Regions from separate parts of the Homo sapiens genome. Here regions 1, 2, 3, 4, 5 and 7 are each linked to region 6. Evidence: promoter capture Hi-C in 16 types of primary human blood cells and fetal thymus (Javierre and others, 2016). All regions are on one chromosome and are shown on one strand. Each heading gives the region's core, a stretch centred on a gene start or on the middle of the fragment in contact. The rest is flanking DNA. Distances are from core to core; before and after follow the strand shown.

The links. The method cuts DNA at HindIII sites, captures the fragments that hold promoters and counts their contacts. A CHiCAGO score of 5 or more calls a contact.
Region 1: a fragment that was not itself captured here is called in contact with the fragment with the promoter of FOXN3 in region 6 in 4 of 17 cell types (total B cells, megakaryocytes, M2 macrophages and 1 more); the score reaches 7.6 in total B cells.
Region 2: a contact is called between a fragment that was not itself captured here and the fragment with the promoter of FOXN3 in region 6, in 1 of 17 cell types (activated CD4 T cells). The highest score is 5.6, in activated CD4 T cells.
Region 3: a contact is called between a fragment that was not itself captured here and the fragment with the promoter of FOXN3 in region 6, in 4 of 17 cell types (M0 macrophages, total B cells, activated CD4 T cells and 1 more). The highest score is 6.3, in M0 macrophages.
Region 4: a contact is called between a fragment that was not itself captured here and the fragment with the promoter of FOXN3 in region 6, in 1 of 17 cell types (total B cells). The highest score is 6.1, in total B cells.
Region 5: a contact is called between a fragment that was not itself captured here and the fragment with the promoter of FOXN3 in region 6, in 2 of 17 cell types (megakaryocytes and total B cells). The highest score is 7.3, in megakaryocytes.
Region 7: a fragment that was not itself captured here is called in contact with the fragment with the promoter of FOXN3 in region 6 in 1 of 17 cell types (activated CD4 T cells); the score reaches 6.6 in activated CD4 T cells.

The regions. Positions count from the first base shown.
Region 1 is chr14:89,240,905-89,244,695 of GRCh38, reverse strand. All of the region lies in intron 4 of FOXN3 (forkhead box N3), which reads left to right. Among named protein-coding and RNA genes, the nearest start is that of FOXN3-AS3, 110 kb to the left of the region's middle. The HindIII fragment of the contact is 3,844 bases long and covers 1-3,447 here.
Region 2 is chr14:89,594,574-89,598,627 of GRCh38, reverse strand. It overlaps a transcript of FOXN3 not described here. Among named protein-coding and RNA genes, the nearest start is that of FOXN3-AS2, 20 kb to the right of the region's middle. The HindIII fragment of the contact is 6,730 bases long and covers 1-4,054 here.
Region 3 is chr14:89,200,063-89,203,904 of GRCh38, reverse strand. All of the region lies in intron 4 of FOXN3 (forkhead box N3), which reads left to right. Among named protein-coding and RNA genes, the nearest start is that of FOXN3-AS3, 150 kb to the left of the region's middle. RefSeq lists an enhancer at 2,114-2,173. The HindIII fragment of the contact is 4,666 bases long and covers 1-3,842 here.
Region 4 is chr14:89,222,050-89,225,756 of GRCh38, reverse strand. The region is part of intron 4 of FOXN3 (forkhead box N3); the gene reads left to right. Among named protein-coding and RNA genes, the nearest start is that of FOXN3-AS3, 130 kb to the left of the region's middle. The HindIII fragment of the contact is 6,945 bases long and covers 1-3,707 here.
Region 5 is chr14:89,160,936-89,164,955 of GRCh38, reverse strand. It overlaps FOXN3 (forkhead box N3), which reads left to right. Exons shown (of 6, transcript NM_005197.4): 6 at 1,987-4,020. The coding sequence ends at 2,542. Among named protein-coding and RNA genes, the nearest start is that of TRA-AGC15-1, 180 kb to the right of the region's middle. The HindIII fragment of the contact is 1,974 bases long and covers 823-2,796 here.
Region 6 is chr14:89,415,563-89,419,252 of GRCh38, reverse strand. It overlaps FOXN3 (forkhead box N3), which reads left to right and starts at 2,020. Exons shown (of 6, transcript NM_005197.4): 1 at 2,020-2,382. It overlaps FOXN3-AS1 (FOXN3 antisense RNA 1), which reads right to left and starts at 1,899. Exons shown (of 2, transcript NR_036500.1): 1 at 1,457-1,899; 2 at 1-93. RefSeq lists silencers at 1,639-1,928, 1,969-2,178 and enhancers at 1,874-2,168, 1,793-2,325, 2,326-2,859, 2,874-3,168. The HindIII fragment of the contact is 2,355 bases long and covers 940-3,294 here.
Region 7 is chr14:89,662,380-89,666,054 of GRCh38, reverse strand. No RefSeq gene overlaps it. Among named protein-coding and RNA genes, the nearest start is that of FOXN3-AS2, 88 kb to the right of the region's middle. The HindIII fragment of the contact is 2,309 bases long and covers 805-3,113 here.

The DNA of each region.
Region 1 (3,791 bases), core at 276-2,775, 170 kb after region 6:
CTGTAATCTTAAGCAAGTTAAGTATGGGGAATCTTCATTCTTGTAGCTATAAGACAAGGTAAGTGGTTTTCCTTTCATCTTGTTTGAAGTGAAATTCTTATACTGGTCTTATCCTGAAGGGCCAATTTCTTTTTGTATTTCAGCTTTGATATTAGCATATGCCCAGAACCTATAGGAAATCAGTCAACAGACCTAGAAAAAGTCTAATAGCTTTGCCTTTTCATACTCTTCACACTTTGCAAGGTTTTCATGACAGTTGGTAGGTGAACTCTGAGCATATTTGGCCAGAGGCAGATTCCTGTGTCTCTTTGCTTACTAAGGATACAATAGGAGGGCTTATAGATGACATTTGTAGGTATGGCTTAGACGGGGAAATATTTGAAGGTTCCTGCATTATTTTGGGAACTTGCCTGAGGTTGCATTTGTATTATAAGGTCAAATTTAAAGGCAGGGAAGGCCGTTACCAATATCATGTATGTATGTCTAAGGAAATATTTTGTCTTTTGCAGGGACTTGATTTCATTTTGCTTGGTTTTCTCAGGGGTGATTTCACCTCAGTTCTGTGTAAAGAGGATTCCCAGATCTCTAGTATTAAGATTGAATGCCTATCTTGACTAGTTGACTAAGAGTTGGGTTTGGGGGTTGGTTTGTCTGTAGCTGTTTCCTCTGCAAAGCCACCTTAGCATCAGTGCAATGAGCTTTTCTTGTGGAGCCAGGGCTGAAGATAGCTTTCTATTGTTTTCATTCTCCTGCGAGTTGGAGCTTAGGGGAGCCCTTATGTGAACTGATGCATCCCGGAGGGAGGGCTTATGTGGTTTCATTGGCGGGCGCGATGCAGACGCAGCTATGTTTAGATTCTTCCCTCTCAGTTACCAGGTGCCCATTCATGCCACTCCCTCACTTCCATAGGTTGTGGAAAATGGTGAAAATAGGATTGTTGAGGTAATTTTTTGAAGCACTGTTATTGTGGTTGACATTGATCATTTGCTACTTCAATTGTATTCCATGATGTCAAATTTACTGTATTTACCTGTAGCAGAAGGAAGATAAACCCTCTCAGAAAATGAAAGGGCAGCATTATTATGTGTTCATGAAGTCATACTGTGGCCTCATTGGCTATCATTGCAGTCATCAAGGATACATTCTTCATAAAATAACACAATAAGGCTGATGTGTGGAGGTCACGGGTTGTCACAACTGTATCTAGGTTAAAAAATGTTGCTATCCACCCAGCCCTCCTTAAAAGAGGCTATTTATAATACAATGCGGGTGTTTGTGCTGCTTGCATCGGGCAGGCGCATCCTGAATGAAGAATTAGCTCTTTAAAAAGAACATTAAAAATAAAACTCATGTTGTAAAGATCTGACAGCCAAAAGAGATTGTGGGCTGTTGTAAATGCTTGCTTATTTCCCAAGGTTGCTGAGTTACTTGCTCTGGGTCATGAAATATTTTGATCTGGCAAGTAGGCTTTGCTTTTTTTAAAAAAATTTACATGTTCTAGATATGAATATACCTACCTACTTCCTAACAATCACTTGGCAGGCCCTTTGGGGATAGGAGCCCCCTCCTGGGAGGGAGGGTCTGTCTTCTCTCCTCCCTGCGTCGGCCACACTGCTGCCTCTTATTCCACCAGGCTCTGGCTTCCTGCATGGGCCATTCCACTTCCGTCTCCCATCAGGGGGCAGGACTCGGGGAAGAAACTTGGGCATAAAGAATGTGTAAATTACACCTTAATAAAGCTGTTAAGAAAAAATAAGCACCCCGATTAATGGACTGTGTCACCATCAGATGAATATTCTAAGTGATTTTTAAAAATAGCTCTTTCACGAGAGTGTTTTGGTTTGGGGTGTGTATTCTTGGATTGTTTTTATTATTTTTCTGCATAGCCTTGATAGGAAAATGTAGAACTCTGTTATCATAATACATGCAGTATTTAGATTGGATACACTTCTTGCTCCCCTTGCATTGATTTCCTACTTTTCTCCTTTGCCTTTTCCCGGTACTTAAGCATTAAGTCGCGGGCATTTTCCCAGTGTAATTGTTGATTAAGTGCTGCATATCCCGTGATGATTATGAGAAGATTACTGTATTCAGCTTTTAATCTTGTGAGTGTCAAATATTTTACTTTAGTGGTATCGTTATTATTATTATTATTCATAGCTCTTTCTGTTTGAGTAATGCAATCAGGCAAAATAAAGGTAATGCCACAAATTCAGCATTTTTATAGTAATTCTTTGTCTCAGAATGGAAAGTGCCACCTTCAGGCCATTCTCAAATACTGATGGAGATTTATACAGATAGGAATCAGAATATTTTAGGCTTCTTTTGGTTGCAAGTAACAGAAAGCAACAAGTTTAGGAAGAAATGCATATATATATATATGAGGGCAGGGAATCTATTGGAGGAAGTACTGTGGGTCTCTCAGGACCCCAAGGCCAAGCATGTATAATAGCTGGCGGTCATCAAGACTGGAACCTGGAAGGCTGCCAGGAACGCGGGCACCACTCGTACCTTCTCTCTGTCACTTTCTGTGTTCTCTTTGTTTTCTCTAATGCCATGTGCAGGATGATCAGTGGTCACCTTGTGGCATTCAAGCCAAATATCCTCCATGGAAGAGAATAGCTCAGGTGGCCTGGCTGTCTTTCAGTTCCAGTGCCCACTTCCCAGGAGCAACAGAAGTTCTGTGAATGGAGTCACTGAAAGCATGTGACCTACCTGGTCCTGACGCCTTGTCCGGGGGAGCAGCAGCATGGAGAAAAAACGTGGTAGCCAGGGGCTTTCTCCATGGGTGGGGAGAGGCAGAGCTCCGAGGGGAAGAGGCCCCCCATTGCGAGTGGGATAGACACCCCAAACAGAGCCCCATTTTCTGTTTTCTTGAGAGAGACAGAGACTCCAGATTCTTATCTAGCCTCCAGTGGCAACTTCTCATGCTTCTCCAGGGTTCCACGTGCTGTATCCCAGAGCCTTGACACTGAGGGCAGGAGCGTGGGATTCTGAAGAGAATCCCAAAAAACTATTTATAATCAACTGTCTGTTGCCTAGTGGGAGAAAAGGAATCATTGGTATGAACAACTCCAGTTACTGTTTCCACAGAACCAGCAGGCTTTCTGGTTCTTTCCTGAGGCACTCCGCTTTACATAGGAGGAAACTGAGATTGGAAGGTAAGTGTATCACCTGATGTCACACAGCCAGAAAGGAGGAAGCTGGGTCACTGATGCTGGCTGAGCCCAAAATGCAGAACCCACGTGTGTCTGTCTCATTCAGCCACCATGGTGGCTTTGGGTTGAATTTTCACAAGCTCACGGTGGCCACCTCATGAGCATGCACAGAGAGCAGTAGATAGTTAATAGGGAAGTGGCTGAGTAGAAGTTGGCCTGAAATGGAAAATTTGCTGGGAATAATTTACAGGCCAAGTAATATTTGTGAACATTCGTGTGAACTTAAGCTTGGCATGAGCTATCTATACAGAAATCTAAAATCGGTCTAAACGTTTGGGTTGCACTTGGAGCCATAGGCCATCGAAGAGCAATGCCGTTGTGTCACTTTGGTTAGGGAGTGTCTGGCTCAGCCACTACATGTCACTCAGAGGATGCCAGTGTCAGTGATATGGGGGGTAGCGCTAATTGGAAAATGGAGGCTTGTCAGAGTCACTGCTAACTAATAAAATCACTGGGAAGTGGGTGCAGTTTTTCCAAGAGTGATTATTGTGGGTGGCAAGTATTGAGTGAGGCGTAGAGGGAATAAAATCAAACTGTCTATACACATGCTGCTGCAGTGGAAAGAACCCTGGG
Region 2 (4,054 bases), core at 1,533-4,032, 180 kb before region 6:
TCAAAAATGAAGAAGAGTTAAAGATATTAAAAACTTATCATGAGGCTGAGCATGGCGGCTCATGCCTGTAATCCCAGCATGTTGGGAGGCTGACGTGAGAGGATCACTTGAGCCCAGGAGTTTGAGACCACTCTGGACAACATAGTGAGACCTTGTCTCCATTAAAAAATAAAAATAAATGAATAAATAATTTTAAAAATCATGAACAGATCTATACTAAAGGAAGTATTCAGTAAAGAGTATCCTTGGGACAGAAGGAAAATTATCCCCGATCAAGGCTCAGAAATGTAAGGAGTGAAGAGCAATAGAAATAAGAATTCAATGGTTAAATATAAATAAATATTGACTTTATAAAATAATAATTATTATGTTTTGTGGAGTTTAAAATATGTAGGGAATAACATACATGGTAAAAGTAGAACATAAATCCAAAGAAGTTAATGAAGTTAAATCATTCTAAGTTCCTTGTAGTGTACAGGAAGTGATAACGAAGTTGTGTTGTCATTGATAAGTTAAGGATGCATGTTTTAAAGTTTAGATAATCTTTAAAAGAATGATGACAGAATGTATAAATAACAAGCTAAGAAAGAGGGAAAATAGAATAATAATACTTAAGAAATTCAAACAAAGATGAAAAATAGAAAAAGGATCCTAGAGTAGGTGAGACAAATAAAAAATAGTAGAATAATAGATTTATATCAAATATCAGCCATTATATTAAATATAAATAGACTAAATAGTCAAATTAAAAGTCAAAAGATTATCAGATTGGATTTTTAAAACTATGCTTTAAAGAGACATACCTTTCTTATAAACGTACAGAAGGGCCCGATACAAAAGAATGTAGCAAGATATACCATGCAAAAGAAAGATTGTATAGCTAACCCAAAGAAAGATCGCATAACTGTAAGGCAAGGAACACTGTTAGAGATAAGGGAGATATTTCATAATAAGAAAGATTCAATTCACTTATACTGCACTCACTTGCTCTCTCTCTGTCTCTCTCTCTCACACACACACACAATTATAAGACCTACAAGGAGAAATACAGATATCTATATAGTTAGAAATTTTAAAACACCTCTCAGTAATTGGTACAATCTAGAGACAAAATAAATAAGGATATAGAAAATTTGAACAAAGTTAATTAACAAACATCATCTAATTATAAAACATTGCACTCAACAAATACAGAGTAGATATTCCTTTCAAGTACACATAGAATATTTGCCAGTGTTCTCTATTTGGTGAGTCATAAAGCAACTCTTAACATATTGATGGAAATCATAGAGTATAGGATGGAAATCATAGAGTATATTTTCCAACTACAGTGACATTAAGCTAGAAATCAATTACAAAAAATATAAATGAAAAATCCCCATATGTTTAGAAGTTAAGCAATCACAAGTCAAAGAATAAATGGCAATGGAAAGTAGAAAATATTTGGAAATTAATGACAATGAAAATATGACAGCAAAAATTGTGGAATGCATGTAAAGCAATGCTTAGAGGGATATTTAAAGCCTATTTATATTTGCATATATTAGAAAAGAAGAGAGGTTTAAAAATAACCTAAGCATTAATTTCCAGAAGTTAGAAAAGAACAACTAAATTTTTTTTACAGTGTTGAAGAAAGGAGATAATAAAGACAAGATAAAAGGTAATGAAATGGGGGGAGAATCAACAGAGCCAAAGGACTAATAAAATCAATGAATCCTGGTGAGACTAATCAAGAAAAAATAGCACCAACAACAACTATGAGGAATGAAAAAAGGGTATAACTATCTTTAAAAGATAGTAAGAGAATATTATGAAAAACTTTATGGCAATATATTTGACATTTTAGAGGAAATGGACAAAAATTTTAAAATGCCACTTACTGAAACTGCTGTAAGAAAAATAACAGGCTGAGTTGCTCTATGTCTCCTCATGAATATGTAATTACAAAGTTTCCCATAAGGAAAACTTCAGATCCAGATAGTTTTACTGTTGAGGTCACCAAATATTTAAGGAAGAAATAACACATATTTTCCACAAACTCTCCACTAGAGAATTGAAAAAGAAGGAATACTCCCAGCTGGTTTCAAGAGGCCAGGAGAATTTTGATACTAAAACCTGACTGAAATGTTATAAGAAAGGAACATTCCAGGCCAGTTTCACTCATGAATATAAATTTTAAAATCCTAAACAAGGCCGGGCACAGTGTCTCACGCCTGTAATCCCAGCACTTTGGGAGGCTGAGGTGGGAGGATCACTTGAGGTCAGGAGTTCGAGACCAGCCTGGCCAATATGGTGAAATGCCCGTCAACTAAAACTACAAAAATGAGCTAGGCTTGGTGGCACGTGCCTATAATCCTAGCTACTTGGGAGGCTGAGGCAGGAGAATGGCTTGAACCGGGGAGGCGGAGGTTGCAGTGAGCCGAGATTGTGCCACTGCACTCCAGCCTGGGTGACAGAGTGAGACTCTGTCTCAATCAATCAATCAATAAAATATCTGTCTCAATAAATAAATAAAATTCTAAACAAAATATTAGTAGTATGAATCTAGCAATAAATTACTCCATCATGATCAAGTTGGTTATCTTCTAGAAATGCAAGGTTAGTGTAATATATTTGAAATCAGTAAGTGTTATTTAGTATATTAGCAGCATAAAGGGAAAAAATCATGATCATCTCAATAGATGTAGAAAATATATGTGATGTAATTAACATTTATTCTCGATTAAAAAAGATTTCTGCAAACTAATAAAAAGGGAGTTTTCTTACTGTAAGAAGCATATATACAAAAAATAGCCTACATCATTAAAAAGTAAAAAACATACTTAATGCGTGAAATGTTGAAAGTTTCCCTTTGAGAGTAGGAAAAACAAATCTGCCATCTATCACCACTTCTATTCATTATTGCACAGCAGATCTTAGCTAGTGTGATGAGACATGAAAGAGAAATGAAGGTATTAGGATTAGAAAGGAATAAATAAAACTATTAATTATTGGGAGACTAAATTACTGAGTATAAAGAAAATTCAAAATAAATTTCGGTTAAGTTGTTGGAACTAAAATGAATTTAGCAGGTTTGTTGCATATGAAGTAAATATGAAAAAAGTAAATTGTATTTCTCTTTATCACTAATAATCAGAACATGAATTTACATTAGAATAAAAATAATCAAATTATCTAGGAATAAATCTAACAAGACCCCTATATTGAAAACCATGAAACACTATTGAGATAAATTAAAGACCTAAATAAATGGAGGGATATATGTTGTTTATGAGATGGAAGACTTACTTCTTTTTTTTTTTTGAGATGGAATCTCGCTCAATTGCCCAGGCTGGAGTGCAGTGGCGTGATCTCGGCTCACTGCAAGCTCCGCCTCCCGGGTTCACACCATTCTCCTGCCTCAGCCTCCTGAGTAGCTGGGACTACAGGCGACTGCCACCGTGCCCGGCTAATTTTTTTTTTTTTTTGTATTTTTAGTAGAGACGGGGTTTCACCATGTTAGCCAGGATGGTCTTGATCTCCTGACCTTGTGATCCTCCCGCCTCGGCCTCCCAAAGTGCTGGGATTACAGGCGTGAGCCACTGCGCCTGGCCGGAAGACTTACTTTTTAAAAGATGTCAGTTCATCTCAAAGTGATGTATAGAGTCAGTGTAATCCCAATCAGAATCCTGAGGGTTTTGTGAAAATTGAGAAGCCAATTCTAAAATTTATGTGGAAACACAAAATGCCAAGAGTAGAAAAGGTACTTTTTTTTTTGACACAGAGTCTCACTTTGTTGCCTAGGCTGGATCTCGACTCACTGCAGCCTCTGCCTCCCGGATTCAGGTGATTCTCCTGCTCCAGCCTCCCAAGTAGCTGGGATTACAGGTGTGCGCCAGGACCCAAAAGAACCAATTATAAAGGAGAAGGCAGATAAAATTGGACTATACTAAAATGAGCTTTTGTTCATCAAAAGATATAGAGAATGAAAGGCAACTTAAGAGATATTTACAACGTCTATAATTTACAAAAGGCTTATATGAAGGATATGCAAAGAATTCCTACAAATCAATTC
Region 3 (3,842 bases), core at 1,018-3,517, 220 kb after region 6:
TGCTGGCTTTCTTAGCACTAAAGGCGTGCAGAAGTCCCTGCTCTGTTGGCTCGTTACCAGCTTCCCTTCTGTGGGGTGCTCTGGGTGGATGAGGACCGTCAGACTGGCTGGAGGAAAACCATAGAAGATTATAGTCTCAGCTTAAAGTAAGGAGCCCTGGGAGCGGAAGAAATGTGTGACATTTGCCCACTCTTCCTTGCCCTCCACCTTGTCCAGCCCCAGCCCAGCAGCATATCTGCCTGCCCCATGCACATGCTGTGATCTGAGTATTCATACCACACGCCCCCGCTTCCTTAAACACTCTGCCCGCTCAGCGCATGACTCCAGTGGGGCAGCCTGGTCAGGACTGGTTCTTCTGCCCTCCATGCCCTCCTTCCCAGAGGAGGGACATGCTCCAGGCACACCTAGCCTGGCAGACAGCCTCCCTCGGGTGCCACAGACACAGGGCACTATGAGGCTTGCTGGTCTATGTGGGAGGGAGAACAGATCTGGGCCTTGGCTGGATATCCAGAGCCTCTCTCTGAAGAACGCCCTAGACTTTGATTTGGAAGTCCACTGTAGCAAAGGGAGGGAATTCTGCGATGTTTGCTTGAACTGCTCTTAAATCCTGTGGTGCAGGCATAAAGAGTCAAGGTGAGAAACCGCACATCCCTCTGAAGTCCCCTCCCCTCAACATCTCTACCTATTGCATTCTCGGGTTTCAGCCCCCTGGAGTACCTATTGCTGGGGATCTGTAACTGATTACTTGATGGGCTGTAAATAGTTGAATTATTTTATTTTTAATATGTTCTCCTCACTCCCCCTCCCCCCACCCCCCCCACATTCCCTGGTTGCAGATGGGTTCTTAGAGCACCACTGGACCTGTCTTAAAGTTTAAAAAAGGGAAATGGTGGGTCACTCCTGGCTGTGGAAGATAACCATTGCCCCAGAGCTGTAGCATCTCACAGCTGCAGAATTTACGTGATCTTAGAGATTTAGGCTCCAAAGTTCTGTGGGGTTTTTTTGTATTACTAGAAAGGAATACCTGAGCCTGCGTAATTTATAAAGAAAAGAGGTTTATCTGGCTCATGGTTCTGTAGGCTGTACAACTTCATGGCGCCAGCACCAGCTTCTGATGGAGATCTGAGACTACTCCACTCATGCGAAATGCGGAGGGGAGGAATCACAGAGTGAGAGGGAAAGCACGAGAGAGATGGGGGAAGGGAGGGAGGTGCCAGGCTCTTTTTAACAACCAGCTCTCACGGGAACACATAGAGCAAGAACTCACTCATGACCACAAGGACAGCTCTGAGCCATTCACGAGGGATCCTCCCCGTGAACCAAACACTTCCAGTGAGGCCCCACCTCCAATGCTGGGGATCAAACTTCAGCATGTGCTTTAGAGAGGTCGAGCACATTAAACTGTAGCACATTACAAATCCCCTTCCAGATGTTTGAGAAGCAGCTTTCTAGTAAGGAAATCAAAAGGCAAAACCTTTTGTAACAAAGAGATTGCCTCAGCAGAACAGTGGTTTATGGCATAGTGGGACCGGGTGTGTGATTCAATATGGTAGAAGTCTACCCAGAAAGAACACAGTGAGGTTTTGTTCTCAGACTACGTCCTGTGTCTCTATAATGAGAGGCAGGTGTCAGGTGTGGGAACATCACTGGCTCCATAGTTCCTTTTTAAATTATTTTGAGTTAGTATAAGACATACATCCCCAGGCAAAGTGAGCCTATGTTCAGAGTCACCCTCCAGTTCTTCAGTGCTCGAGCATTAGGGAGGAAGACAGTGGAGAGGTGGGCACGCAGTTAGTGTGTGCCTTGAAGCACTGATGGCAGGGTTCTGCGTGGTATTTACTCTCACTAACACACCTGCCAGTGTCACTCTGAGATGGAATCTTTCCTTCTGTAAAAGATTATTTGCACATTGACCCAGTTGAAGACAGAGTTAATGAAGATGCCGTGCATGTGGAAATACTCAATTCTCAGCACTGACAAGCACTGCCATGCCTGCTGGGGCCAAGCCACTATGAGCACCCCCACAGCTGTGGGAAAGTTGGTGCAGGGGTTACCAGCAACCACGAACCCTTTTACTAGAGGAGGAAGTGGCTTCTGGCGTGGGAACTGGGCAGGAGCTATCTTCCAATAAGTGGAGAGAAGTGATGGTTGGGGAAAGCCAATCACTGGGGAAGATGACCTTATAGCATAGAGAGGGGGAAAAACAGACTCAAGAAAGATGCACTGGTGGTCCCTGGCTGGCCGTGCCCAGGCCCCTATACTCTGAGCATCTCCCTGGGCCTTTGGCTGTGGTCTCAAGGGGCTTCCTGGTCCCACCTCTGGCTTCTGGCCGTGGCACATCCTTTCTCTTGGACACCAGTGTGGCCAGGCTCTGAGGTGCTCTGGGGTCTCTTGGGAGTCTCCATTCCTGTTCCTGCCCTGTGGAAGCCTTCTTGCACCTGAGGCTGGCTCCAGTCCCCTCCTGGGCGGTGAGCTTCAGCTGTAACACTGGATGAAGAAACCAGGAGCAAGCAGGACATTTTCAAAGCAAAGAATGCCAGACTCTAGAGGGCTTCGGCATTAATCGCCCTCTCCTCCCTCCCTGCAGGGTCAGAATCTCTTCCACGGCAACCCCAAATGTCCCCTGTGCACATGGCTATGAGCTACTGCCATCCCCAGAGAGGGGTGACCCAGGAGACAGAAACCAGAGAATGCAGTAAGCAGAGATTCACAACTGGATGAGATGCAAAGGGGAAGAGACTTGAGAGGAATGTGTAGTTTCTCATTCATCTATAGGGAGCTTTAAAAAATTTAAAAAATATATAAACTGACCTCAGACAAGTCCAGCACAGTTAACAAGCCAAACAGAACCAAATCAAAACCCCCTGCCTCTTCAATAATGGCTCTGTCTTATTACCCATGGGACAGGATCATAACTTGGTCTGGGTCATTTGTCACCTTTGTCCTGGGCTTCAAATCTAGAAGTTTAGATTTTTTGGTATTCTCAGTTTCTGTCCACATGGTTCTTTGAGTTTTTTCCTAGGCAGCTGCTAGAAAGATTTTGATCAACTGGTCAAAGATATTAAAGAAGTCAATGTTGATCAGTAGGAAAATTTAGAGTGCCAGATAAAAGAGGTGTCTGGGATGGCAGTGTCTTGTCAAAGGGCTGGAGGTGATGCGTTCACTTGCTTTGGAATCACAGATTCGGGAATGTGACGGCAATGTGACGCAGACCTCGCTGCTGAGGCGAAAAGGACGTTAGAATTAAGGGACTCAGAAGACATCAAAGTTAAAGCGGTTCTTGTTGCCCGGAGAAAACAGAAATACGAAAGCATCTGCCTGGGGAGTATCAAGGTACTCCTTTCATTTCTCCAGCAGAGGAGCAGCAGGGACAGTGATCGACTCTGAGGAAGTGAGAGGCCCGGAGAGCTTCCAGCCCGGCCATCCTAACACCACCTTAGAATTGGGGCGCCTGAGACAGCCCTCAGCACCAGGCTCCCAGCCCAGGATGCTCTTTGAGCTCTGTACTTACCTTCCAGTAGCTTTTCCTAGAATCCCCTTCCTGATTAAGTGAAATGAGGGGTAATAGATGGGCAATTTACACGAGTTAGAAAGATGCCCCCTGTTGGGGAGCTGACTTGGACAGATGTATTCCGAATTTGCAGGGTTCACTGTGATACTGTTCCTCAGAGCCCGTACATTCTTCATTTAGAGTTTACCAGTCACTGTATTTAAGCTGGAAAGACTCAGGAAATGTGTGAATGGGAGCCTCATACCCAGAGTACCCCCAATGAAATGTAGAGCTTACTTGGAGATGTGTGTGTTTGTTTGTTTGTTTGTTTTCATCTGTTCTTATCCCTTTG
Region 4 (3,707 bases), core at 58-2,557, 190 kb after region 6:
AGAGCAGAAGCGTGAACCTGTGTGTAAGGCAAACTCAGGTCAGCGGATGATGCTTCAGGACAGTGAGGGAGGGGGTCAACTCAAAAAGTAAATTGCAGACTAGATCTAGTTCAAATATTATTTCATATTTTTATTTTTATTTTTATTTTTTTTGAGACGGAGTCTTGCTCTGTCGCCCAGGCTGGAGTGTAGTGGCACGATCTCAGCTCACTGCAAGCTCTGTCTCCTGGGTTCACGCCATTCTCCTGCCTCAGCCTCCCAAGTAGCTGGGACTACAGGCGCCCACCACCATGCCCAGCTAATTTTTTGTACTTTTAGTAGAGACGGGGTTTCACCATGTCAGCCAGGATGGTCTCGATCTCCTGACCTCGTGATCCGCCTGCCTCAGCCTCCCAAAGTGCTGGGATTACAGGCATGAGCCACTGTGCCCGGCTTTTGTATTATATATTTTTCAGAGACAGTCTCACTCTGTCACCCAGGCTGGTGTGCAGTGACGTGATCGCATCTCACTGCAGCTTCGAACTCTTGGGTCCAAGTGATCCTCCTACCTCAGCCTCCCAGGTAGCTGGGACTATAGGCACACATCCCCACACCTGGCTCTTTTTTAAGTTCTTTTTTTTTTTTTTTTTGAGATGGAGTCTCACTCTGTCGCCAGGCTGGAGTGCAGTGGCACAATCTCGGCTCACTGCAACCTCTGACTCCCTGGTTGAAGGGATTCTTCTGTCTCAGCCTCCCTAGTAGCTGGGATTATAGGCACGCACCACCACACCCAGCTAATTTTTTTATTTTTAGCAGCGATGGGGTTTCACCACGTTGGCCAGGATGGTCTCGATCTCCTGACCTCGTGATCCGCCCGCCTCGGCCTCCCAAAGTGCTGGGCTTACAAGCGTGAGCCACCACACCCGTCCTTAAGTTCTTTTTATAGAGACAGGGTCTTGCTATGTTACCCAGGCTAGTCTTGAACTCCTGGCCTCAAGCAATCCTCCTGTCTTGGCCTCCAAATAAGATTTTATTATGATGCCTTCATTGATGTATGTTCTTTGAATTTCTGTAGCATTTTGTCTTCCTTAGTTGATTGTCACCCGTTTTCTAATGTAGCAGTTATTCATGTAGCACATATTTACATCTCTCCTACCAGATGATTGTTAGAACATACCCAGTTGTGCCTGGTATAGTACCTGCCACACAGTAGGTGCCTCAATAAGTTGTTATTGAAGATGGAAAACTAAAACATATCACATCATATGGGCAAGGTAGGGTTCCAAAGCATTTGGGGCAGAAAAGGTAATTCTGATATTTACTCTTTGAAATTAATTTTTATGAAAGTTATGAAATCTAAATTCTCACCTCTCCTTAGGCTTTTGACAGGTGTTCACAGATCTCATTTTATTTATAAGCCTATCAGTTTTTAATAATCACTTTTAAGGAGGCCTTTTATTAATGTTTGGTCTGATTTGCAAACTTAGTTAATTAAACTCCTTTAAACATTTTAAGCTGCATTTGTAAAGGAAATCGAACTTATTAAATTTATAAGTACTCAATTGCCTGACTCAACAAACAAGCCTCTTAGAGCACTTAAGCAATTCTTATAAGTCTAATTAAGCTCATAAGTATGTTACACCTTGTGGTCTTTTAAGTTTTCTTGTATAGTATATATGACCTTACTGAGATTTTGACTTCAAATCAAAATCTAAGTTGATTATTTAATGCCACATTTTAAGTTAAAGTCTCAAGGCTGGTCTGTTATTCTAATGGACAGATTCTCTTAATCGTTATAAATATTTGAAATACTATGTTTGAAATACAGTGAGTATTTCAAATAGTTAGAACAATTGATACATTGATCTGCATCGATATGTTGATCTGCATTGATGTCTTGTTTAAGGAATTCATTCTACAGACCTGATTTCCTTAAGCATTTCTCTGCTTTATTCTAAATGTTCCTGGGGGTAAAAGATGCTCACACAAATTGTCCAAGCATGGAAAGACCTGCTTCCCATGAGGACGCCTCTCCCCCTGACTTCCACACCTCAGGGATCTTTGGAAACGTCTCTTCCCCAGCAACCAGCGCCGCACCCGGCCCACCTCTCACCCTCGACTGCCCAGTGGGAGAATTGCTATAAATTCCAAATCAGATGCTTTCTGAAAGGGACCTACCAGGGGCTTCTGGCAACTTTAAGAAGGAAAGTCTGAGCAATTGGAGGCTCCTGGAGGCTGCCCAGGAATGCAGTTCAGTCCTCGGAATTTCTAATTCTTCTTCGCCCTGAGGAAGCTCACAAAGGTGGACAAGCAGGCCCCTTCTCACCCGAAATGTAGGAAGCCATCAGCAACCTGCACCCTGGGCGATCTCCCAGGAGAACCTGCCCCTGGCCTTTGTGGTGACCTTTGCTGTGGGAAAGGGGAGGCAGGAGGCCATGGGGTCTGGCCTTGGAACCACAGCCCGTGGTCTGCACCTGCCCACCCAGGGACTAGTGCTCTTCCCACTGGAGGCCGACTTCAGGACCACCCGACACAGCCTCGCCAGCTTCCCTTCCACCCTCGGCCTCCCATCCTCATAGATCTAGCATACAGTGGCTCAACTCAACTTGTGCCTCAGTCACAAGCCTCACGGTCATTGAGATTGCAGGAAATAACAGACCAGTAAGTAAATCTGGCTCTCCAGTTCACATTTTTTAAAAACCAAGCCCAGGCCAGTTGCGGTGGCTCACATCTGTAATCCCAGCACTTTGGGAGGCCAAGGTGGGAGGATTGCTTGAGCCCAGGGGTTCAAGACCAGCCTGGGCAACATAGTGAGACCCTGTCTCTGTTTAAAAAGAAAAAAAAATTGAGGCCAAATTGTTTCTTATCCTACAGAAACACTAAAGGCAGATTCCATAGTTTAGATACTCTCAGCAAAACTTTTGCCCCCAATTATTTCCTTTTTTAAAATTTTTATTTTATTTTATTTTTTAAAGGAAGGGTAGAGGGAGGTAGGAGAGAAGAGCAAAGAAAATGATGTTTATTTCACTAAAGAAACCATCAATTGTGTCATCCCAGGTAGTTTTGGGCATCGCCTTCCTAGGTGAATTTGGGTGGGAAGGTGGGGCTGCCTTCCCGGCTTGCTGAGATGTTTCGGTGACCAACAGGTGTCCTCCTGAGCTCGGCTGGGTGTCTGTGCCCCTGACTCCTGGGTTGAGCTCCTTTTTATAGTCATTTGTAAATGAGGCCACAAAATAAAGAGGCAGATTTCATGTGGCCCACACTCCTTAGATTCACGGTAAACATTACGGATTTCTCTGTCCACTTGTATTAGTCTACGTCCCCTGCCCTCTGGCTGTCACTAGACTGGATTTACATTTTTTTGTATCTTAATATATGTAAGCGTCTTTCCATTAGAATCCAAAGACCTTGAAACTCTGTGGAATTGTGCATAATTTTCATGTATTTCCTGTCTTGGGGGACCAGGCAACGCTGACAGATGTTAAAATGAGCTGGTATATTCCCAGCTTTAGTTGACTCTGTCCAGAGCTCCCCAGCCCCACAGTGGGCATAGGCAGGGTACTTCTCAGGTGACATCAGCTCTGGAGAGCTCTGTGTGCCACAGCAATGGCCAGTGATGGGTTTCCACGGTGACAACTAAGTTCTCAAGAAAAGATTGTGTAGGCCGGGCGCGGTGGCTCACGCCTGTAATCCCAGCACTTTGGGAGGCCGAGGCGGGCAGATCACGA
Region 5 (4,020 bases), core at 560-3,059, 250 kb after region 6:
CGGCCCTGGGGCCCCAGGAGAGCAGCTCCTTCGCCTCACTCCCTACTGCACCCTTTTCATTAGGGACTCTTTCCCTTCCCCTTTCACTTTCTATGTGGGATGCAGCTGAAGTCTCCCTGAGCCTCAAGGCCCATGAGGGTGACAGGAGAAAAGCCAGGGTAGAGATTGTCACTACTGTTATCTCACTGGTGGTCCTGACCCCACAGCCCTTCTACCAGTGCCGTATCCTCAGCGTGTGCCCGGTGAGTCATGGTGGTGGAGACCCACAGTCATTTCCCAAGCTTCATGCTCTCAGCCACGTGATTCCACCTGTGCCGCACTTCCTCAGTTTATCTGCTGTGTCCACCGTGCTGACACGGCGATAGCCACTGGGGGCCTAGCAGTAACCACACCCTGTCTCATGGAGCTAGCTCTCTAATGGGACACATGACCACACAGTTCATAATGATGGTGGGGAGTGCCCTCTATGGAGGGGATGTAAGAGTACTTACAGTTGGGGTCATCTAGGCAGGAAAAGTATGGTCATGTTCCCCAGAACTCTTAGAAATGGATCACGAGGTAGATGAGCTTACAGGAAACCGGGCCAGCATGGTGCCATAGAACAGTTCCCATCCCTGCCAAATTCTTCAGCCCTTGTGTCCAAGGTCAGATGCCTTGTCTTCCACAAAACATTCCCTGGCGTCCACCCTTCGTCCCCTTCAGCTACAAGTGACCCTCCTCTCCTGCAAGTATTCATCCTTCTGAAGGCTGGGCGCCAGGCACTAACAGACAGGCAGCTGCCTCCCAGACATAAGGAGCATGGGTCCTAACCAGGAATAAGCTTCACAGCCATTGCTGTCAGGCCAAGCCGTGGTCCAGGCACCTGCAGGCATTAATTCGTGTCCTCAGCCCCACACCCACGGGGAGCAGGTGTAGTTACTATTCCCACTTTCGCGATAAGGAAGCACAAGGAAAGTACATCGCTCAGATGTAAAGACACAAAGAAATAATCAGAGGTGTGATGAGTGCTACAGACGCCTTATAGGCATGGGTAGCAGGGACCTTGTTATAGGGAAATCACAAAGGAGGGTCGGTCTGGTGATGTAGCTAAGACCTCAAGTCTGAGAGTCAGACTTTGATTCCAGTCCCTGCTCCGCAAGTGATCAGTTGTGTGACTTTAAGTACATCACTGAACTTCTCCAGGCTTCACTTCGAGCCACTGTAAAATAAGGATGCTAATATCCACCTTACGGAGTTAAACATGGTCCTCTGCACAGACTTAGCAGAGCGCCTGGCAGGTGTTGAGTTCGGGAAGTCGTAGTTTATTGCCCTCTGGTCTGTGATGCGACCCTGGCTTGCCTCTCTGTTAGGCTGCAACATCGCTGTGGCAGTGTCTATATCCGATCCAACCCCGTGTCCCTCCCCCAGAACCCTCCCTAAGGTCATGCATTTCTGTTAGGCGCTCAGTGAGTATTTGTAGATTGCATGAACGAGGGAGGGAATGCATGAGTGAGTAGCTGTCACCACATGGCAGGTATCTTTGCTGAACACTGGTTTAGTCTTCTGACAAAAGCCTCCTAATGTAGCCGCTTCAGACGAGAGCAGGCTTTTTTCTCTGAAGTACCCAGCCAACATCGTCTGGCGGTGTCTGACTCTGTGGTGTTGGCGGGGACACGAACCAAGCACAGCTTGATTTTTATGGTTTAATGTAAGAGATGGAGCCTCCACCACTGTCGCTTCAGAAGATTGTTGTTTTGACGTCTCAGCCACACAAATGGAGTGAAACTGCCATTATAGGAGATAAGCAGGGGAGACTGAGGTGTCAGGATTTAGGACCCTGCCTTCAAAGCAGATCCACCTGTTGCCCCCACAGTTTGCGAGTGGCTCCATTGAACACAAAGGGACTGATGGTTGAATGCAGGCGGGCTGCCGGGTGCCCCCATCTGAGGACGTCTAACTGTGTCCCTTCTTTGTCTCCCGTCCCTCCCCACTGTCCTCGCTCTGCAGGAATGGCATCACCAGCTGCCGGATGCGGACTGAGAGTGAGCCATCTTGTGGCTCCCCAGTGGTCAGCGGAGACCCCAAGGAGGATCACAACTACAGCAGTGCCAAGTCCTCCAACGCCCGGAGCACCTCGCCCACCAGCGACTCCATCTCCTCCTCCTCCTCCTCAGCCGACGACCACTATGAGTTTGCCACCAAGGGGAGCCAGGAGGGCAGCGAGGGCAGCGAGGGGAGCTTCCGGAGCCACGAGAGCCCCAGCGACACGGAAGAGGACGACAGGAAGCACAGCCAGAAGGAGCCCAAGGATTCTCTGGGGGACAGCGGGTACGCATCCCAGCACAAGAAGCGCCAGCACTTCGCCAAGGCCAGGAAGGTCCCCAGCGACACACTGCCCCTCAAAAAGAGACGCACCGAAAAGCCCCCCGAGAGCGATGATGAGGAGATGAAAGAAGCGGCAGGGTCCCTCCTGCACTTAGCAGGGATCCGGTCCTGTTTGAATAACATCACCAATCGGACGGCAAAGGGGCAGAAAGAGCAAAAGGAAACCACAAAAAATTAAAAACAAGTCACTGATTTGTTTTGAACTTACGACCATTTGGTTTCAGCATGTCAGGAGATTTCTAATGATTTGTGGCAATATCAGCAATTTTTTTTCTTTTTTCTTGTTTTTGGTTTGGTTTTCTTTCTTTTCTTTTCCTTTTATTTTGTTTTAATTTGCCCCCTCTTCTTTGTTTTGGACCCTTAAGAATTTTATTTTTAAAGGAGATTGAAGCCATAGAACTCATATTGACACTCAGCTGTTTTACAAAAGCTTTTCATTATCTGAAGACAAAACCGAAAAAGCCAAAATTACCATTGCTTCCTCCAGCTTGTCAGAAACCTGTGGCTGAATCCGCAGGGATGTCAACGTCAATATCACAGGAACACACATTCGGCACCTAGAAGGCACGTGGGCAAAGTAATCATCGTTCAGGCCCAACCCTTAGGTTTAAAAAGTCAGGTTGTCCATCCCATTGGGTTCACTGAGTGAAGGCACATAAAGCAATTGAGGAGGAGGAGGAACCCCTCGTCCCCCTAGGAGCAGACCCAAGCTTGTGGCACCAGGCATCTGATGGTGCCAGGAAAGCCACTGGAATTGTCACACGGCGAGCACAGAGGGCCGGCCACCAGTCCTCGATGCTTCTGAACCCTGAAGCCCGATGACATCTTACGAGGTGGACGTTGGACTGTTCATGCGCATCGGGTGTCAGTGACTCATGGAGAAGAAATGGGGTAAATTTTTAGTGATGTTGCTAATCATTGAATTCTGTTCTCTATTAAATTAAGAAAATGTTCCAAAAGCCATAAGCCTGAAGATTGGCCCTGTGCACGCACGCACACACACACACACACACACACACACACACACACACACACGAAGGAGAGAGAGAGAAAACTGATGGGGAAAACAAGCTGTGTCTTCTTAACTGCCCAAGTGAAAAGCAACCAAGTCCAGGAAATTACAATAGCTGTTAAGGAAAGGAAATAATGGTACAGATCTTTTTCTGTCTATCAAAACTATTTGATCCAAGTGAAAAAAAAAAAAAAACTAGAAAGCTACGGAACCTGCCATTAGTATTGTGGTGTATTTTTAAGATTAAAGGTACACTGATGGACAAAAAAAAAAAGTAAAACATGGCAAAAAATAAAATAACTCCTATACTGCCCTCAAAATGGAGTTTGCAATTAATATCAGGATTTATCTTTGCAAAAATCAGTGATTTCCACATTCAGCCAGTATAGCCAGCAGAAATTTCTGATCCACAATGCATGGATTCCTTTGAAGAAAAAAAAGAAAAAGAGAAAAAAATCACAAAAACAAACTTTTTTTATTCAAAAGTAACAAAGTTCTTGTAAGGTAAATAATGTATTTAGCATGAAGCATGAATTATTTTCATATAAATATAGAAAATAGAGAAAAGGCTATGCCTGTAATTTTTAAGCCCTTAGGCTTAGAGTTTCTTTTGGTTTTCTTCTTTTTTCTTTCCTTTTCTTTGC
Region 6 (3,690 bases), core at 771-3,270:
CAGGCAGACATGTGTCCCCTGCTGTCCACATCAGGCAGGGCTGGTCCACCACTTCCTCTTCAGGGTGACACCTTCTCACATCTCTTGCTGCAACTGTAATGGGAGAGAGAAATTAAGAAATATGTTTGAGAATGCAAGAAGCAAAAACACACATGGAATGACATATTCCATGTACAATCACCTTTGGCTCACATCCCCTCTTTTTGAACTCTGAGAAAGCAGGAGGGGACTGGGGCCGGTGAAAATAAGGTGCCACCTCTACTTAATATAAAGAGATTTCTGGCTATTGTGTGAGTGTAGCTGGGGGACTTGGGGGTGGGGTTGGGGGCTGGGGATGGAAGAGGAAGATGTAAGGGGGCGACTTCGTCCTCTCTAGGCCAGCAAGGGCTTGGACAAAGGTCTCTGGCCTTGGTTCCTCTGGCGGAGAATAAGCACCCTCAACTGACGCGCTGATGGAGGGGCAGGACCTGCATTAGCCGGAGCTACAGGAAAGCAGGGTACACATTGTCTCATCCTGGCTTTGTTACCACTTCTAACCCTGAGAATCTCTGGCGTGAGACTTCAAAGATCATCTGACTTGTCTCTGCCACCTTGTGCCTTTTGCTTAGTGACTTTGGGTAGGTCGCATCAAGTGCTCAGTAATCAAAGGGGTGGGGCTGGATGACCTCAGGCTACCCCTGGGCTTCCACCTCCTAATTGTCTCCAGATGGGGAGATGCCACACAACTTGGAAGTAGTAAGGTCTCCGGTGAGTCTGAAAGGCACATCTTTGCTGAAGACTTGTCACCTGCCCTCTTGAACCTTTGTTAGGGGGAATGACTCTCAGATTGGGGGGGGGGGGTCTATTTTTTGAGACAGAAAAAATTTTCAGAAGCCTAACTGGTGTTTCCCTTAGTCCCTCCTTTTGGCTAGGTTTAAAAGTACTGCATGCTAGAAAGCTTTCTCCAGGTCTACTCGCTGTTTTTTTCTGTAGTTTTCAGACCGCTCACGATGTCCTGTCCACTGGCTCAGGAGGGGGTGGCAGGAAGGGTGCCCTGGGCTTCTCCTCTGTAGAGGAACCAACCAATTTGGCTACCTGGGAGTAATGTGCAATCACATTTTTATTTTTGTCACCACCAGGGTGTCCTGTTGGACTCTCTCCTCTCATCCTCTCCCAAGGCGGCTGGTTGGTGTGGCTTTAGCAGTGGGTGCTATTATTTGGAGGTGCCTAGAGACTTAGAGTGGTGGCTGCACCATTTCGCTGGGTGGCTTGCGAATTGTCAGTCTGGTTCCTGAGAGCTCAAACTGAGATGGAAATGAGACCTGTTTTCTCTCTAGGCCGGCCGGGGCGTTCCGCACAACCCACTTGAGAGGCCCCACCGGCGTGGCCTTTAGGACGGTGCCTCTTGTCTTGTAATGGCCACCGGCCCTCCCTCGGGAGACACGCGGCCACCTGGGTGGGACGCTGCGGTGCTTACCTCCGGGACACGAGGTGGTCGCTGGGAGAGGGCTCGGAAGGCCCTGGGGGTCCTATCAGGACGCAGCACTGGGGAGACGTGGAATCTCCTCTTCTCACCCCCACAAGCCTCGCCCGCATCGTAATTCTTTTTATTTTTACTTTCGAGCCATGTAAGGCATGCAGATGGGGTAGGAGCGTTCCCGCGACACGTTGCCAGCAGCGCAGCGCCGGCCCGCTCGTGTGGCCGGAGCCCGGGGAGGGGACAGGGCACGCGCCGCCTGACCCACCTGCCCCACCGCCCACGGTCGCGGCCGCCCTGGGTCGCGGGACCCGCGCCGGTCACCCCCGCCCCGCGGGGCCCAAGAGGCGAGGCCGCGCGGCCCAGCCCCGGCCTCCGCCCTGGCTGAGTGCTGGGGCGCGCGAGGGGCGCGGGCAGGGTCCGCCCCGGCGGGTCAGTGCCCCGCGCCCCAGGCCGCTGGCGGCCAGGCCCACGTTTTCCCTTTCTCCGGCTCCCTCCGCCCTCCGCTCTGTCCCTCCCTCCGCCCTCCTCCCTCCCCGCGCTTCCCCTCCTCCTGCCTGGTCATGTGTCGCCTTTTTTTGTTTGCAGTGGAAACAATTTCTCGCCGCTCGGCGCGCCCCGGCCCGACGCGCCGCGGCGGAGGCGAGCGGGAGGCGGGACGGGGCGGGGAGAGCGGCGGGGCCGGCGGGAGGACGCGCGGCGCGCCCGGCGGACGCCGCAGGTCCCATGCCGCGCCGCGACCCCCGCGCCCCTGCCGCCCGCGCCCGCGGCCGCCCCCCGCCGCCCGCCGCCCCGGGCTCGCCGCGCCGCGCCCGCGCGTCCTTAGCGGGGCCACCGAGCGATGCCCGCCGGGCGCCCGCGAAAGTTTGTCGGCTCCTGCTGAAGGGCAGCGGCGCCCCCGCACCCCCGTGCCCCGCTCCGGCCAGGTGAGTTTGCACCCCGCTCCTGCCGGCTCCCGCGTGGGCTCGGGGGGCACCCGGGGCGGGAGGCGCGTCCGAGACGGTCCTGGAGACTACCTCGCCGCTCTGGGAAGACGAGGGACCCCGCAGGTCCTGGGGGGAGGGTCGGGTGTGGACCCCGGGAGCCCCCGAGCCGGGAAGTTGCCGGGTCCGAAGAGTTTCCTGCCCCGACGTGCGTGCTGCTTCCCGGTGCCTCGGTTTCCGAAAAGACGCCCGCAAGGAACAGAGTTGGTATTGTCTGCGGAGGACGGGGTCCCCGCCGTTCCGGGCCGGGGAGGGGGTTCCGATCAAGTGGAGACCCCAAGATGAGAAACAGGCTCCTAACAAAGATCACCCCCCGGCCAAACTGTGCAGACTTGGCACAGGCAACGAACGTCTCCGGAGACCCCCGAGGCCCGACCCCCCTCATCCCGGCCCTGTTTGAAACCCTCCTTGGGCCCTGGATAAGTTGGGGGACGGCGGGCTTTTATTGATTTGTTTTCGAGGCTCGCCGCGGTGCGGCCAATAAAAGGTTTATGACATCTGACCGGCAGTGAAGGTATGCGAGCTCCCAATTGCCCTGTATATGGGGATAAGAGCAGTTTCCCCCGTTGCCCGGCAACGCCGCTGATTGACGCGGGGTGCAGCCAATCGCCACTCCCGCAGGTCCCCTTGAAATGTTTTTGACAAGTACAGTAGACGAGAGTGAAGCGCGTGCGTGCGCGCGCGCGCGTGCTGGGTGGGCGGGGGTGACCCGGCCCCCCAAACTCGCTACTGCTCGGCTCTGGGAAGATTTCTTAACTTTTTAAAGTTCGCATCGAACATCTGTTCAGAGCTGGGCCAGTAATGTCTTTGTCAGTTATTTGGAGACCTTCTGTTTACTAGGCGAGAAACTAAGCTTTCTTGCCGCATTTTCTCCGTTAAAAAATAAAGAGGGTAACAAAACACAGCAAGTCATAAAAAAAACAAAAGAGGGTGTGTGTGTGTGTGTGTGTGTGTGTGTGTGTGTGTAGAGAAAAGTTGTAAGGAGGTCACCAGTGAATAACTATTTGCGTATCTGGTGGAGCAGCCTTGTTGGCAGCAGATTAAAAATGTTTGCTTAACTGCAACTCACATGATCCAGATTCTTTTTTTTTCCCTCTGAAACAGGAGGAAAAAAAGATTTGGCGAAATCTGTAGTTAGAGTATAATAATGGAAAACTCCTCAGCTGTGGTTTCTGGGAACTGTTTTTTTTTTTTTTTTTTTTTTTTTTTGGTTATTGTTGTTTTGTTTTGTTTTTACATGGAACTGTAGTG
Region 7 (3,675 bases), core at 710-3,209, 250 kb before region 6:
CACACTTATACATATATGCTGTATTAGTCAATTTTCACGCTGCTGATAAAGACATACCTGAGACTGAGCAATTTACAAAAGAAAGAGGTTTAATGGACTTACAGTTCCACATGGCTGAGGAGGCCTCACGATCATGGTGGAAGGCAAGGAGGAGCAAGTCACATCCTACATGGATGGCAGCAGGCAAAGAGAGAGTTTGTGCAGGGAAACTCCTGTTTTTAAAACCATCAGATCTCATGAGACTCATTCACTATCAGGAGAACAGCATGGGAAAGACCTGCCCCCATGATTCAATTATCTCCACTGGGCCCCTCCCACAACACGTGGGAATTATGGGACTTACAAGATGAGATTTGGGCGGGGACACAGAGCCAAACCATATCATATGCATATATATTCAAATTGTCCAAAAGGCTTTTGTTTTGTATTTTTTCATGGAGCTACTGTCTTATGTACATAATTGTCTTATATTTGGGCAGATAAGGCACTCCATGAGCCCTGATGTAGACTGGCAAATATTTGCACTCAGTATTAATGGATCACTACCTATAATCATAACAAGGAAAAGGCTGGGCTAGTCAGATGAAAGTCTAAAGGCTGACCCAGCCCTGCTGTATCCACAGAGCACATCAGATGATGAACAATGTGCCTCCTGAGCCTGAGTGAGTGTCCGTTGTCGATGTTGGACTACATTGCCCAGATCCCCGGCTTTAAGAGATCTTTGCCCCATGTGCTGGGAAGGTTGTAGGCTGACAGCTCTCAGCTGTCAATCCTCTTTGGGAATAGCCTAGGCTGAAGAAAGCTTTCTTGTCCAAGGACATACCCCCTTTCCAGGATAGCCTGCAACCAATGACCAGTTGCCATTGTATGGAGGCTCAATCCCAGTGCCCCAGTTCAGACCAATACTGAAGGAGCTGCCTGTGGGACTGAGGCCTTGCAGTGACTACACTGCAGCTTAATTCTCCCTCTTCCCAACCTTCCTTCTTTCCCTTCCTCCTACAGATGTTAATCTCAAATGCACTCCCCAAATAAATCCCCTGCCTGCCAATTTCTGCCTCAACAGAACAAAGGAACTCATGCGGTTTCAATAATCTTTTAAAAGCCAATTTATCTACAATGGAAAATCCACATGTTCTAAATAGCCATAAAGTTGTTTGTGGATATCAAAATTCAGAGAAACACTGAAATAGATAGTTTAATAGGCAGAACAGTAAAGACAGTCAGAGACTGATTGGGAATGAACTTCAAGAATTTTAAGATTTTTGAGTGAGTATAGTGCTATAGATGACGTGGAACTTGGTACACTCATGAATTGAGGAGGCAACAGCCACTGGAATATAGGTGTGAAAAAAAGAGTGAGGCAAGGATTTAAACAAGTTCAAAGACCCTGGAAATGACTCAGGGACCTGTCAGAGAGGGGAAGGCTCAGCCATTTTTGATAAATACAGAAAATGAGCAGTAATTATATGCATTATTTCATTAATTCCTTGACTATTTTATTTTATTTTATTGATTTATTTTTGAGATGGAGTTTCACTCTTGTTACCCAGGCTGGAGTGCAGTGGCACGATCCCGGCTCACTGCAACCTCTGCCTCCTGGGTTCAAGCAATTCTCCTGCCTCAGCCTCCAGAGTAGTTGGGATTACAGGCGTGTGCTACCACGCCTGGCTAATTTTTGTATTTTTAGTAGAGACAGAGTTTCACCATGTTGGCCAGGCTGGTCTCGAACTCCTGACCTCATGATCTGCCTGCCTTGGCCTCCCAAAGTGCTGGGATTACAGGCATGATTCCTTGGCTATTTATGAAGTCCTTCTACCATGTTAGCCTCTGTCCCAGCAGATGACACCATGAGGACCTGTAAGATGCTGCGTAGTTGGATGATGTGAGGCTGAAGAGAAAGAGACGTTCACGTGAAGGTAAAAAATGATGGTTTGGCCGGGTGTGGTGGCTCACACCTGTAATCCCAGCACTTTGGGAGGCCGAGGCGGGTGGATCATGAGGTCAGGAGTTCAAGACCATCCTGACCAACATAGTGAAACTCTGTCTCCTCTAAAAATACAAAAAAATTAGCTGGGCACCGTGGCAGGCAACTGTAATCCCAGCTCCTTGGGAGGCTGAGGCAGAAGAATCACTTGAACCCAGGAGGCAGAGGTGGCAGTGAGCCGAGATCATGCCACTGCACTCCAGCCTGGGTGACAGAGCAAGACTCCATATCAGAAAAATAAATAAATAAATAAATAAAAAGATGGTTTGGCAGCCGCGCAATGAGAAGATAAGAGAATATGGAGCTCATCTTGCCCTCATCCCAGCTCCAGCTCCCTGCACGTCCTCAAGGGAGAGCAGGCTTCGGTTATAATCAGGAAGCAGGGGAAACATTTGGTAAAGGCTGGAATATGTTAGGAAATTTACTTAGCATTTTATAGGGATTCCAGAGGATGAAATGGGGGGTTTGGGAGAGAAAAGAGTGCCCGTAAAAACACTTCCATGCCATTTAAAGAGTGTGATGATGAAGTTAGGGCTGAGATATTCTAGCAATCAATATTGAGACCAGTGATGTTTATTCATGATGGTGTGAGGGTAAACCAGATAACTGAGAGCCAAAGATGGACCTAACCCAATTAGGAAAATGAATAACACAATAGCAGGCCTAGTTTTTATAAATTATGCACACCGATAGGAATAACTTAAGAGTACAATGATTTACTTATTCAACTTAAATTGCTATGAGAATAACCCCTTAAAGAAAAAGATGGCATTATAACATTTAGCATGATGCAACACTATGGTGTTATGTGGTGTAGTTACTGAAGGCAGTAACAGACCAATCTAAAAAGAGAGGCTGTGGTATGAAAATCATTCTGAACTCCATTAGACAAATGGCTGACTTTTCCATCTCCAGAAAGTAACAAATAGGAGAAACAAGGACAGACAAGACAATCAAGAGATTACAGCAATGTAGGGTCAAAGGAGAGCTTCCTCTTCGCCCTCTGAAGGTTTGCTTGAAAAATCAACTCACAAAAGGCAGTTTAATGGGACAAAAGGCAGACAATTTATTTAACACACACACACACACACAGAGCCACGCAGTGACCATCCAATGGGGTTTGGAAGCTTATATGCCATCCTGGCTGGACATTATGGGAAGGGAGCGAAGAGGAACTCTGTTGACGGGATTACTAGGAAGAATGAACGGATCAGGGAACAGAGATTAATTTGTTCATTTTCTTGTGAAAGGGTCTGTTCCAGTATGGTTACCTTCTTGGTCTTAGAGGGAGGAGAAGAAGGAACAATGGTTCCTTCTGGTGGGTCTGGATCTTAGGCAGATAAAGCTTTTGAGAGAGACAATGGGGTGGAGAAGGTCAGAGAGACCTTGAAGCTTCTTCAGTTCAGTATGTCAGACCACCATATTTTAGGGTATTGGGTTTCTGAGCCCCAACGGTAACATTAAGAGAAGGAAAAACGTCAAAAAAATAATTGTTGTAAAACAAACAAAAAATTAAAAAAAAAAAAAGACCGTTAAAAGAGAATGTAGCATAGAGCAAGAGGCATGTTTGGAAAAAGTGATCACCTTTTAGGAAGTTGCCAGTTGGTGGGATCCTACCTAAGCAAGCATTCCCGGGTGTGAGACCATCACTTTGCCTTTGAGATGCCAGGGGTTAAAATGGCATCTCAAAG